3 separate regions of the Homo sapiens genome follow, and all the other regions are linked to region 3. The links are contacts of gene promoters, found by promoter capture Hi-C in human tissues and cell types (Jung and others, 2019). All regions are on one chromosome and are shown on one strand. Each heading gives the region's core, a stretch centred on a gene start or on the middle of the fragment in contact. The rest is flanking DNA. Distances are from core to core; before and after follow the strand shown.

Evidence for each region. The method cuts DNA at HindIII sites, captures the fragments that hold promoters and counts their contacts. A contact is called where the count stands out against the background at its distance.
Region 1: a fragment that was not itself captured here is called in contact with the fragment with the promoter of CHRDL2 in region 3 in 4 of the 25 tissues and cell types used here (IMR-90 fibroblasts, bladder, neural progenitor cells and 1 more).
Region 2: a contact is called between a fragment that was not itself captured here and the fragment with the promoter of CHRDL2 in region 3, in 1 of the 25 tissues and cell types used here (mesenchymal stem cells).

The regions. Positions count from the first base shown.
Region 1 is chr11:74,672,394-74,677,052 of GRCh38, forward strand. No RefSeq gene overlaps it. Among named protein-coding and RNA genes, the nearest start is that of MIR4696, 46 kb to the right of the region's middle. The HindIII fragment of the contact is 7,509 bases long and covers 1-4,659 here.
Region 2 is chr11:74,776,780-74,781,632 of GRCh38, forward strand. The region is part of intron 1 of RNF169 (ring finger protein 169); the gene reads left to right. Among named protein-coding and RNA genes, the nearest start is that of RNF169, 30 kb to the left of the region's middle. The HindIII fragment of the contact is 4,103 bases long and covers 98-4,200 here.
Region 3 is chr11:74,729,853-74,734,374 of GRCh38, forward strand. It overlaps CHRDL2 (chordin like 2), which reads right to left and starts at 1,574. Exons shown (of 11, transcript NM_001278473.3): 1 at 955-1,574. The coding sequence starts at 1,036. The HindIII fragment of the contact is 7,141 bases long and covers 1-4,133 here.

The DNA of each region.
Region 1 (4,659 bases), core at 1,178-3,677, 57 kb before region 3:
GAGGACACAGGGAGAAGATGGCCAACTACAAGCCAAGGAGGGAGGCCTCAGAAGAAACCAGCACTACCAACACCTTGATCTCAGACTTCCAGCCTCCGGAACTGTGAGGAGACACATGCCTCTTGTTTAAGTCACCAGTCTTTATTATGGCAGCCTTAGCAAATGAATACACCCAGCCTCACCCAGGAACTACTGCTTAAAAAACACAAGAGGATACAGAACACAAATAGGAAGCACCTCTGAAGCACCTCTGGGCAGTGTGGGCTGCATAACCCAGAGCTTAGAGATCTCTCTATAGGTTTGTCCCTGACAGAAGCCAGTTCCATTCACAAAGGCACCACTATCCTGGAAGTGTGGGTGTTTCAGAGCAGCCTCCTGGTGGGGCCCTGCCTTAAACCCTGGCAGGCCTGCCAGGAGCTCCTCCTCACCCACAGAGGGCCACATCCACAGAAATGATGACAAAGGGCCCTTAGGTTCTTGCGTTCCACAAGGAGGCTCCAGTGGGAACAGGCCTTGGGAACCAAGGACCTGTGCTGCCCAGAGAAACCCAGGATGGGCGAGGAGCCGGCCTGAGGTCACACAGCCTGAAGGACAGCATCTGAGCTGGACTCTCACCCCCTGCTCTTGTCCCAGCTGCTTCCTTTTGCAGCCCTGGCACCTCGCCCAAATCTGCTGCCACCCGCTTCACTTTCCCACCCTCTCCCCTCCACCTCTCTGGCTCTGACTAAGGCCAGGAGCATGATTTCAGAATGATGAAACCCAGCTCCTGAGGTCACGCCGGCCTCATCGTAGTGGCTGTAATTTTGCACGGCCTCATCCCCCGCAGTAAGCTGGGGAAGCTGCCAGGCCTTTGGCACATGTCTGGGGGGCAATGTGAGGATGAGACAGTTAGAAGAGATCACTTCAAGCCAGGTCAAGAGGAATTTTTGGTTACATACCATCTCTTGTCCCAGCCCTGGTCTGGGAGACACAGACTGATAATGCAGCCTTATTATGCTCACGTCATACCTTTGGCCATCATCCCACTTAATCCCCTTTATACACACAGTTTCCAAGCCAACACCACCAAACTGCCTGCACGTCCGTCCCCACGCTGTGCTGATTCACATCTCTGGGGTTTTGCTCCTGCTGTTGCTGTTACCTCTGTGTGGACTACTCTTCCCTCCTCTTCCTCCACCCTCCTTATCTACTTTGCTAACTCCTGCTCTTCCTTTAGGGCCTAGCTGTGCTGTCACCTTTCCCAGGAAACCTTCTCTGACCATGCCCTCAGCAGGTAGGCCTGTATATTTCTCTCTGTACTTGCATAATCATCTATCTTTATGTCCTTGCATTGCATGTGAATTATCTGCTCACATAACCATTTCCCCATCCAGAATGGGAGCTTCTTAAACTTCTTGCTTGGGATGGGGTTGGGACTAGATCTGGTTCATCTTGGTGTCCCAGCCCCCAGTTCAGAACTGAACATAGAATGAGTCGGTAAGTGTTGATTGAATGTCAGCCCACCCCCTACCCAACACACACAAAGATAGATAAGGCCTCCATTTACAGAGAGAAAAGCCCAAGAGGAGTTTTTTGACCTGTTTAATGTCCCAGGGTGAGTTAGTATCAGGACAGGGATTAGCATCCAGCTCTTTGGGAGCTTAGACTAGTTCTTATGCACGAAGGACAGCATTCATAGAGCAGCCAGCCAAAGGGACCCACTCAACACCTGTGAAAAGAAGAGGGGGGCAGGGAAGAAAAGAAACAAAGGGATCACTTAGCCTGAGCCAAACTGGGCATATTCATTGTCAAATGCTGTTGTAACAAATCACCACATGGGCGCGGTGCTCATGCCTGTAATCCCAGCACTTTAAGAGGCCAAGGCAGGCATATCACCTGAGGTCAAGGAGTTCGAGACCAGCCTGGCCAACGTGATGAAACTCCATCTCTACTAAAAATACAAAAATTAGCTGGGCGTGGTGGTGCACACCTGTAACCCCAGCTACTTGGGAGGCTGAGGCAGGAGAATCACTTGAACCCAGGAGGCAGAGGTTGCAGTGAGCTGAGATCACGCCACTGCACTCCAGCCTGGGCAACAAGACCAAAACTCCATCTAAAAAAAAAAAAAAAAAAAAAAAAAAAAAAAAAAAAAAAAAAAAGCACCACACTTACCGGCTTAAAACAACACGTATCTATTATCTTACAGCCCTGAGGTCAGAAGTTCAGAGTGGGCCTAACTGGGCTAAAATCAAGGCATCAGTGGGTCTACCTTCCTTTCTGGAGACTGGAGGGGAGACTCCATATCCTTGCCTTTTCTAGCTTCTAGAGGCTGCCCGCATTCCTTGGCTCATGGCCCCCTTCCCTTCTCAAAGCCAGTGGCCGGTTGGGTAGTTCTCACAAGCATCCCTCTGACACTTCCTCTTCTGTCTCCCTCCTCAGTTCATAAGGATCTTTGTGATTATATTGGGCTCATCTAGATAATTTGGGATAATCTCATCTCAAGGTTCAGCTGATCTGCAACTGTAATTCCCTTTACCATGTGACCTAACATCCTCAGGTTCCAGGGACTAGGAAGTTGCCATCTTCTTTTTTTTTTTTTTTTTGAGACGGAGTCTCCCTCTGTCACCCAGGCTGGAGTGCAGTGGTGTGATCTCGGCTCACTGCAACCTCTGCCTCCCAGGATCAAGTGATTCTCCTGCCTCAGTCTCCTGAGTAGCTGAGACTACAGGTGCCCACCACCACGCCCAGCTAATTTTTATATTTTTAGTAGAGACGGGGTTTCGCCATGTTGGCCAGGCTAGTTTCCAACTCCTGACCTCAGGTGATCCGCCTGCCTCGGTCTCCCAAACTGCTGGGATTACAGGTGTGAGCCACGGCACCCAGCCATTTGAGGGTCCTTATTCTGTCTACCACACTGTGGGCAAGCAGGTAATGGAATGGATCTGTTGAGGGTGGGGTGACCAGACTTCTAGTGTGCTTAGAACTATCTTGGCTTCAAGCTGTCATCCTGAGGGTGATCGTACGCCCTTTTGCTCTCAAAAACATTCTGGCTTGAAGAATAAATTATATGATTACCCTAGTCACAGACTATTAGGGCAGGAAGCTCAAGCCTTCCATTTTGCAGATGAGGAAACTGAGGCAGAAAGGGGCAAGAATGTGCCCAGTGTCACACAGCTAGTAGCAGAGTTGAGACTAGAACCTAGATCTTTTGCCAGGAGGAGGACAGGTTGGTGCCCAATTCAGACTGAAATATTTCTTGCATCAAGAACACTTCCTAGAGGAAGTGGTAGGCATAGTCATCAGTGATGATAATAGTGAAGATGATAATGATGAATTTATTGCACACTTACTGTGGGCCAGGCATTGTAAATTAATGCCAAATGCTTTAGATGTATTATTTCATTTGGTCTTCACATAGGGAAACCAATTTATAGTGGTTAAGTGACCAACCAGTAGGCATTGAATCTAAGTTTCAAACTCAAATCTTTCTTATTATAAAGTGAATTATTTCCTCTGTACTTAGAGGGTTGTTGGGCTTAGGGGCCTAAGAGGATTAGAAGCTTTACTTTGGAGAAGCCCAGCTTTAGGGTAGAGATGGAGAATGATGGCGGGGTTGGGGATTTATTGAGCCTCTGAGTCTATGAGAGAATGGATATGAGGATGCAGTGGCTCAACGACTTGTGTTTAATTTCCACTGAAGACTGAAATTATGGTCACAGCAGGCGTAGATTATCTATTTATTTTTAAAGGTTTATTGTTTTCCACATCTGCTGAATGTAGAACATTTGGAAAATAACAGAAGGAAAGAGAAAATAATAACAATCATGATAATTCCATACTCCCAAAGAACCACTGATAACATTTTAGCAAATTTCCTTTCAGGGATTTTTTTTCTTTTTTTCTTTTTATCCTCTCTTTCTTTTTTTTTTTTTAACTTCCCATTCACCCAATATTACAGGGATTTTTTTTTAAATAAAGTATTTTGACTTATGAAAAAGTATAAGAATAATATGATCAACACACATGTACCCACCCTCCAGCTTAAGAAATAAGATATTCTATATATTATTGAAGTCTGGCATACCTGTTACCCAGTATATTTCCTTCCTCCCTGCCAGGAGGTCTTTCTAGGCTTTTCTCTATGCATGTTGCTTTTGCTTACTTGATGTTGCTGTGATTTTACAGTTTGATACCAGAAGAGCTCAGGAGAGACATCAGCAGGTCCCCAACCCTGGCACAGTCTAGTAGTTCCAAAATATTACCTTATAAAAAGGCAGCTTTGGACTGGCTCCACCTTCCCACATTTGGTGCTGGGTGGCCCAGTGATGTCACTCTACCCTTGGGAGTTCCTGCCCCAGCTGTGTAGCTGTGGGCCTGGTTTGGCGGGTCCCCTTGCCCTCCCTCTTCCCACCTGTCTGACCTCTGTGCTGCCTGTGCTCCCCCTCTTTCTCAGCCTCTCCCTTCCTTGTAGCTCAGCTTCTCTGCCTTGTCGCATCAATCCCCGTCTCCTCTCTGCTCCAGCTCCTCTTCTATGGGCAAGCAGCGGCCCAGGTGGAGAGAGCAACTCTACTTTCTGCCACAGGCCCTACTTCCCGAGGGTTCTAAAGCTCCCCTATCTTTCCCACCAATGCCAAGAATTCCTTCATTTCCATTTTATTCATAAAGTCATGGATTATGGGA
Region 2 (4,853 bases), core at 899-3,398, 48 kb after region 3:
GGGAAGAAAATCATTCTGGGAGGAGGAAGTGGCATATATAAAGTCCTAGTGGAGGCAGGATATGGCATATCTAGGAATAGGGAGATGTGTAAGGGCTGGGGAGAAAAGGATTATTGAAGGAATAGTAGAAGATTGGCTGAAGTGGCAGATTGGGTCCTGTTTACAAATCTTGGAGGCAGTGGGAAGCCAATAAAAGTTATTAAGTGGAAGGGTGGTAGGGTCAGTTCTCTTCATAAAGAAAGGGAAGCAATGTTAAAGATAGATGGAAAGACAGAGTCTAAGAGACAGGGAGGCCAGTTACTTATCATTGAATGCCCACAATCTATACCAAGTAGGTATTGGAGGATTAGGTGAGATAAACAACTGTGTTGAGGTAAGTGCTACTCCCATTTTATGAATGAAGAAACAGGCTTAGCAAAGATAAATACTGGTAGGCACATAGTCACTAGGTGACTGCAGGTCTGTCTGGTTCCAAATCCTGCATTCTTTTTAATTCTGGTATCATTCTACCTTGTGGACTAACAGGAATAATTCTTTGCCTCAAGCAGGGCAAAACTTAATTCCAAAGGATTTTGTATCATGGTGGTGGTAGATGTGGTAGTGAGGACAACCACATGGGCTTGGTCTGCCTAGGATAAAAGGCCATAAGGTCCAAAGCCTTCATCTTAGCAGCATTCCCATGTCTGTGTTTGATTCTGTGACCTCCTTTATCATGTGCCTCTTGCTGCTTTGACTGTGCTGATCCAGTGCGGATTACCTAACAACAAAGCCTTGTTGTTGGGGCCATTTCTGGATTCAACAAGAAACCTTATTCACTTTGACTCTACTCTTATACCTGCTTTTGCAAATCCTGTTGGTCTCGGTTGTCTTAAATTTTTTTTTTTTTGAGACAGGGTCTTGCTCTTTTGCCCAGGTTGGAGTGCAGTGGCACAATCAAGGCTCACTGCAGCCTTGACCTTCCGCCTTAGCCTCCTGAGTAGCTGGGACTACAAATATGCACCACCATGCTTGGCCAATTTTTAATTTTTTGTGCAGATGGAGTCTCATTATGTTGTCTGGGCTGGTCTCAAACGGCTAGTCTAAGAGATCCTCCTGCCTTGGCCTCCCAAAGTGATGGGATTACAGGCAGGAGCTACCACGTCCAGCCTCAACTGTCTTAATTTGTCTTTCTCACTAATCCAGAGATTAGCAAACTACGGTCAGCAGGCCAGATGCAGCTTCATCTCATCTTGTGAAAGCATTGCCTCTCCTTCCCAGCCCTGTTCTCTTTCTCCTGTGGATTCTTAACTGCAGTGTGTGTTTGTAAGATTCATTTGGCAGTTGTTTATTCTGTGACATTGCATCTGTCATCGTCTCCCTAGTTATTTAAAACTATTTTTAAAGCTTTTTATGATTTAGTCTTAGCTAATAAACTGCATTATAAATGTTTTGGGGAAAGAGTTTTGTGCCTTTCTTTTTATATTTTCTCGTTCTGCAGTACCTCCCTTCTTCCTCATTGCTCATTCCCTCTTTAACCTACTAATCTCTGGTGACTGTTTCTATCATTCTTACACATTTACATATGATAACTTGATATGTTATCACGAATTTTTTTTCCATTTGTGAGTTCTACGATTATGTCACTGTTTCTTTTTCCAGTATGTTATTGCTGTTTCTGTGTTTAATGGTTTTTCTTGTTTGAGATTATAAGGTATACTTAATCTGGTGATGTTGTGCCAAACCCCATCAGCTCCAGTGGGGATGGCACCAGGTTCAAGAGGCCAAAGAAGAGACTTAGCCAGTAAACGAGACATGGAGTTTTCCTGGGGGCTTTACATACAGGGAGAGACTCCAGTGGTGGCGGGCTGGGCGGGAGAACTGCCGCCACTTTCAAAAGGCCTGCAATTTCTATAGTATTTTTACGTAGCAGCCTTTATCTAACAACCGCCACCTGGCACCCTTCATTCAACTCAAAAGTCAGGACCTCTATGTCCCATATGGCCCATGTTCCACTGGACAGGGGCTCAGGTGTTCCTCATAGACAAGGAATGAATTTCTGAGTTGGCCACTCCCAGATTCCCTAGCTTGGAACACACATTCAGATGTGTCCACCATATCGGTTATTCTCAGGGTATGCTGAAGTTATTGCTATCAGGTGCATTTACCATACAGGTGACTTGCATCTTTCACTAACTTAAGCAGTTTCCCATCTTATGAAAGCAATACTGCGTATTATTAAAAGTATACAATTTTAGTGACTGAATAATAGTACAAGTGTATGGTCTGTCCATAATCAGCCTAACCATTTTCTCAGTATTGGACAGTTAAATTATTCTTGATTTTTATTTTGCAGTTGTTAACAATGTTGCAATGAAAATATTTTTATGTAAAAGTTTTGCGATATTTCAGATAACTGTCTTAGATAGATTCCTAGAAATTAAATTACTAGATCAGATGTTACATAGCATTTCATAAGTTCTTGTGTGGGCTGTGGCATTTCTGTTTGATTAGTACTTTGCCAAAGAATAGTTTAAAAACACAGTAGTAGTAGTACTACTACTACCATAGTAGTAATCGGTGGTGTAAATTATGGAACCTAAGTGAGCAGCCTTAAAATTTGATACTAAATTTTATTAGCTCAGTTCAACTTTCTTTCTGTGTATTTCCTCTTGTTCCCAGGTAAACACTCTATATTGCCTGTTGTAAACTGTTACTTGTCTTAGGCAAGGGGGTAGGTGAAAATTGCATTTGTTTAAGACAGTCGGTACTTGGCTATCATCTATATTCTTGGAGAATCAGAAGGAGTAAACCAAAAAATAGTAGATAAAATGGGAAACACTTTAGTTTGGTTTTATTTTTATTTTATTTTATTTTTTGGGGGGGTTCAATTCTAGCTGATTTGATTTTCTTCTCAAAAAAAAGTTATTTACAATAGTTTGGTTTTAGAATACATTTGTGGTTCACTCCTGTATTTCTACCTTACTACTTTTAAATGGTGCATTTATTTTAAACATTAAAGTTTCTCCTTTCACTTACTTCATTTGACAGTGGTTGTTCAAGGTTTAGTGGATGGTATCAGCAGGTAAATTTGATTGGCTGCTTTTTTTTGGAGATGGGGTTTCCCTACTTTGCCTGGGGTTGGCCTCAAACTTGCAGTCCTCCCACTCTAGCCTTCTGAGTAGCTGGGACTACAGGCATGTGCTATTGTGCCCGGCTAAGCAGGTAAATATGAGATTAATATGGATAATTGCCTTGTTTCTTGTGTATCTTTGCACTTAACATATGTTTCATTGTAAAAGATGTGCTTTGTTTCATTGCCTGCCTTTCGCTGTTGTGCACCTCCACCTCTTGCAGTACTTAGGTATTTAGTTTTATAACTCTTTTGACATTCTATAGTTGTTTCACCCAAGTATGTTTTTCCTTTCTTTGTAAGATTGTAAACTTATTTAGGACTTGAATCACCCATGTTCTGCTTTTTATTATGTCCCTTTCTTGACTCTCAAAGAATGCTCTCTACTTTTGTTTTCTTCCTCGCTGTTCATTCCCTCTTTACTCTCTTAATCTATGGTGACTACATCTTCAAATCTCATCTATCCAGCATTACTGCCCACACACCCTATTCCAGTCTATCTGACACAACATAGTCACTTCTGCCTTTGCTTGTGAAGTTTCCTTTGCCAGAAATGGCTTTTTCCTCACTAGTACTTGTTCTTAATGCCTAACATAATTCACCTCCTCCAGGAAGCCTTGCCTTTAAGAATTCAGCCTCATTGATCCTTTTTCCTTTCCTCAGATTTACTTATGTATGCACGCTTGCCTTATGATGTGCATCATTTCATACTTTAAAAAATGGTTTTAATTTTTGGCTTGTAGTTTCATCATGAAAATCTTATCTTCTCCACTGCTTATGAAATATGTAGATTTTGCTTCTGGCTATGATGAAGCAGATTGTAGCAGACAAAAACTCCTGTTGAGAATAACTAGAAAAGCTTGATTTAAAAAAATCTATATGAAGGCATTGTAAGTTGCCAAGGCAGCCAGGATTTCAGACATTTGTGGATTCTTGGCAAAATGAGAGTGCAGCTATTAAGAGGCAAAAACGTCAGTGGTGCTTTCTTCATGAGACTGAGGATACAAAAATTGTAGTTCAGAGCTGCCAAGGCAACCAGAACCTGAGGGTCCAAGATCCCAAAGAGAAGAGATGTATAGCCTCTTGCCCTCTCCACCTACTTCCCCGCTACCTAGCTCCCAGGGTGTTTGCTGATTGTTAACTGTGCGGGGTAAAAGGCTAAGAACCCTCACAGAAAGCTACTGAAAAGCAAGGCAGACTCTAACAGTTCTCCAGTGTTGAGGAGAAAAAGTTCATGATCTTTCAAGGAAGATAGGCTCGGGAAACACTGATCTCAGTTGGATCCTTGGAGGGCTACAAACTAGGGGAGAATGAGCTGTAGAAGCTTTATACTGCAGCCGTCTTTGAGTCAGCTCATGTCATGTTTGGATTGTGAAGTGATCTGCCCCCTCATTCTAACTGCCTATCAGAGAAGATGGTGGATCCTCTGTAGGAATATAACATCACCCAGGGCCTTTATAGTTTTTCATACACAATGAATGACATTCTAACAAAAACTACAGATAAACCCAGAGACCAGAAGAGGAATAAAACCAGACAGTACAGAAATAGATCCATGTGTGTCCCCATCATCTAATTAGTTAATCAATCTTTATTTGAAGGACATTTAGGTTGTTCCCAGTCTTTAGTATGGCGAGTAATCAGCAGTGAACATTCTTGTATGTATATATTTGTACACATATATATCTTTAAGATAAAGCATAGCTTTGCTAACTCTGGTCTTATGAAACTTTTTGTTCTTTAC
Region 3 (4,522 bases), core at 324-2,823:
GGGACCACCAGCCTATTGTGGGCGCAGTGAGGAAACTGAGGCTCAGATTGATGATGTAACCTGTTTGATGTTACACTGTATCTATGTGGAAAAGCATAATTGGGAACTGATTTTTTTTGGAAGCTATCAAGCACCAGTCTTGTGCTAGCTGCTTTACCTCTTTTCTCTAATTTAATCCTATCAACTCTCCTAGGATTTTTACTTCCGCTTTATAGATTAGGAAACCCAGGGTCAGAGAGGTGCACTCTGTGACGGCCTCCCAGCAGCTGGCATTCAGCGGGGCTGGGATGGTGAAGACGCTGGTCTATCTCACTGTGCCCTGCCGCCTCCCAGAGTCTCACACTGCAAATTCAGGGTTCCTTCTAGACAATGTGAGGCAGGGAATAAAGCATGGGATCTGGAACTAGAGTTCTGGCTTTGGATGGCTTACCCGCTCTGTAAGTTTTAGCAAGTTCCTCCTTGCTCAGCCTAAGTTTTCTCATCTGTAAAGTGCGAATGATAATACCCACCTCACTGGAGAGTTGCGAGGATCAAAAGAGAGAAAAGAATGGGAAGGTTATCCTAATTACCTCTCATTTCTGTCCAATGGCTCTTTCCAAAGGCAAAAAGCCTTTTCTTCTCCATCACACTCCTTACCTGTAGCCAGACATACCCGACTCCCTCCTAGGAACAGTAAGTCCTCCCCCAACCCAAAACACAGTGCCCTGCCCTCTCCCCCCGCTGCCCTTGGTGCCCCTCCTCAGGTCCCTGGCAGCAGCCCTCTCTCAGTTCTGAGTTGTGCCGAGTTCCTCCGGTCCCCCGGCCCATACTGGTCCTCACGGAGTCTCCACCCCTCCGGCACAGGTGCTGCCTGGACGGCTGTCAGAAGAGCTTGGGGTCCAGGTCCTGGCGCTGTCCCTCACATTCCAGGGGCCGCATCCCTCCTCTGCCCACCCAGCCTCCCGGTCTACTTACGGGCTCGAGCGTGGGAGTCCAGGGGGAACCAGAGCAGCGCGAGTCCCAGCAAGGAGGAGAGGACCCTCACCTCGGGAACCATCCTTTCCCCAGGGTCAGGCCGCTGGTCCGGGAGCGGAGTCGGGAGGAAGGGAGACGAAAAGGACACGGAGGCACAGGGGCCACAGATCAACCCACAGACCCCAGGAGGTCTGCTGCTAGAGCGGGGTCGGAGAAGGGCCAGGAAGCAGCGGTGGGCAGGAAAGGAGGGCAGGAAGGGAGGTCTAAGGTGGGAAGAAGAGAAAGGTGGAAAGAGAACGCGGGGAAAGGAGGGAGAGATGGAGAGACGAAGGAAGGTCCAGCAGAAGGGAGAGGCGATCAAAGAAAGGGGGAAGGTGAGAGGGAGAGGAGGAGAAAGCAGGGAGAGGACCGGCGTCTGCCGAGCGCGCAGCGCCGGGCGAGGCGCGCGGGACCAGCGGGTGTTGCGGGCGCGCGGGCTAGAGGCGGCCGGCGCCCCCTGCTCGGTGGGCTCGGGGTCGGGCCGCGGGGGCCTGGGGCCCGGCGGGGCGGCGGTCCCAGCAGCGGCGGCGGCGCGGCGGCCGCGGAGGGAGGCTGAGCGCGGGCCGGCTGTGCTCGCCAAGGGCTTCAGGCGCCGCGCTCGGGCGCATTTGTACTTTGCCGCGGGAAGCAGGCAGCCCGGCCTGGCGCTGGCCTAGCGCTGGCGCCTCCTCTGGGGCACCGCGGGCTCGGTGGATTGGCCACCCGAGAAACAGGCCCACTTTTTCCCCTCCTCTCTTGTGCGGGTCTCCGGGACGGACGCTCCAGGCGCGGCGCCGAGTGGAGGCGAGGGGGCTGCGGAGGGGGAAGGGGCCACGCGGGCCACGGGGTTTAACCCCTGACTCCCCGCGACGCCAAGAATGCAGGAGGGCAGAGTTGAGGGAGACCTCAGGTGGAACTTTCAGGTGGGGAAGGCTGAGCTGTCGGGGCTGCGGGTACCGGGAAGGCTCAGGGTAAGGCGCTCGGCGGTGCGTGCCCGGAACTCCGCAGATGGATGGAATCAGAACACTGGCGTTCTTAATTCAGTTTGTGGTCTACAGCACGCCACCGGAGAGTCTGTTTTCCCAGCTTTAAAATGGGCATTTTAAGATCTTAAAATATCTCTACTATCTTCCCACGAGTGTTGCTAAGATGAAATAAGGTAATGAACGTCGAAACACTCACCCCACAAAGAGAAGGGGTCCTAATTCCAGGTGCCTACAATACCAGTGGCCCCTGTCCCCACTCCGTCTGCCCATGCGCCATTCTCAGGAAAGTCAGCCCATAGGGATCCTGTGCCTTCCCCTGGAGGTCTTCCTCTGCTCCCCGCTCCCACTCCCGAATCAAGGCAAGATCTCTCCTTTGCCTTTGCAGGTGAGGCCTGCACTTCTCTGGGAGTGATGGTCACCTTCAGTCATCTTTAGGGAGAGCTGATTGTCAAAGAGTTTTCTTTCCCACCAGAAGGGGAGCTCCCTGAGGACAGGGCCCTGACACCCTCCAGCCCTCAAATGGTGCTCCATCTCTTGTGTTGAATGAACACATGCACTAATAGGACACTAAGAAGAGAATAGCCAGCTCTGGCCAGACCAGAAACACACAAGCTCTGAAATCAAAAGGGCAGAGTCACTGTCCTGGCTCCATCCGTAACTTGTTGGGCCACTTTGAGTAAATACATCTATCCTTGCTTTGGACCTCAACTTTCTGCCCAGCTTCTCTTGAAGAGCTAATGGAGACTCCAAAGAGTGCCAGAGGAGTATGAGGTGGGAAGGGATGTTGAGCCATATCCCACTCTGGTAGGGAATCATATTTCCGGGTTTAAACACTTGGCTGGCTGGCTGTAAAGGTATCTTTCTGGGCCAAGGCTGGGCTCCCCATTGCACTGTGCTTTCAGGGTATTACCCCCAAGATCTCCACCCTCCAAAAGAGAGCAGTAGGAGGAACCAGTGATCCCCAAACTGGCCCTTCCTAGGGCTCTCAGGATCAGGGACAAACATGATCTGTCCAGTGCCCTTCAGGCTTAATTTCTACTCTAATCTGGCCAGTCTCTTCCTTTCCCCTGAGTATTCTTTATTTTAACAGATAGTGCAAGCTTATGCATGTCACCATGCTTCCCTTTTTGCCTTTGCTTCCAGGGATCTCAGAGTTAAATCCTGTGCTGCTTAATTGCATAAACAATCTCATCCCAAGGGTTTGGGACAGTGATCTTTTCCTTTCTCTTTGTTTAAAATGTGCTGTGCACATATATTCATGTCTTAGATGTAAGAAGTGGATTAAGATGGGTTCCCCTACATCCTGCCCATCATACTTCAAAAAAGGCCTCCACCATCTCAGCCCTCCTGTCCATCCCTATTATCCCCAGAGTTGAGGCCAACTTCATTCCTTTTTTTTTTTTTTTTGAGATGGAGTTTTGCGCTTGTCGCCCAGGCTGGAGTGCAGTGGCGTGATCTGGGCTCACTGCAACCTCTGCCTCTGGGTTCAAGCGATTCTTCTGCCTCAGCCTCCCGAGTAGCTGGGATTACAGGCATGCACCACCTATAATTTTTGTATTTTTAGTAGAGATGGGGTTTCGCCATGTTGGCCAAGCTGGTCTTGAACTCCTGACCTCAGCTGATCCACTCACCTCAGCCTCCCAAAGTGCTGGGATTACAAGCATGAGCCACCGCACCCGGCCATCTTCATTCCTTACTTGAACTTTCCCAACAGCCTCTTACCAGGTCTCCTCCCCCTAATCTGGATCTCTCCTATCTATTTTCCTCACACCTGCCTTGAGAACTATGCTGATCATTTCTACTGACAAATCTGATCACATCACTTTCCCACATAAAACCTATTATTCACTTCCTATCATTTATAGGTTAAAATCTAAAATTTTCAGCACTGAATTGAACACCACGCATATTTTAGTTCCAATCTACCATTGCCACCTACCCTACACTTTGGCCAACCGCTCACCTCCCCAAACTGACCATGCGTCGTCGCACCTCCATATCCTCACACATGTTTTCCTTCTGCCTGGACTCTCTCTTCCTCCATCTAGTGAATCCCATTTAACTTTCCAAAGGTCAGTTGAGTCACCTCCACTCCAAGGTCTTCCCTGAGTCCCCCAGGCAAAGTCAATGTTTAGTCTTTGTGTTTCCCATAGCACTTTGAATTGTAGCTGTTGGAGTGTAAGTATTTATTTGCATTTTTACCCTGCACTGTGAGTGCAGGTGCCTTTTGAAATTTATATCTGTAATTCGAGCATTTAGCAAAGTCCTTGACACACAGATACTGAATAAATAATTGCTACATGAATGAGTGAAGACCTCAGTGATTGGAAAAGCCTTCAGCCCACTATTGGCCTCAGCTTTAGTCAATGATTGACATAAGAAACAAACACTTGAAAGTTTCTGTGTCAGGCCGGGCCCAGTGGCTCACACCTGTAATCCCAGCACTTTGGGAGGCTGAGGTGGGAAGATGGCTTGAGCCTAGGAGTTTAAGACCAGCCTGGGCAACAAAGTGAGACCCCCCCCCAACTTCGTCTCTACAAAAAGTAAAAAAGATAGCTGGGCAT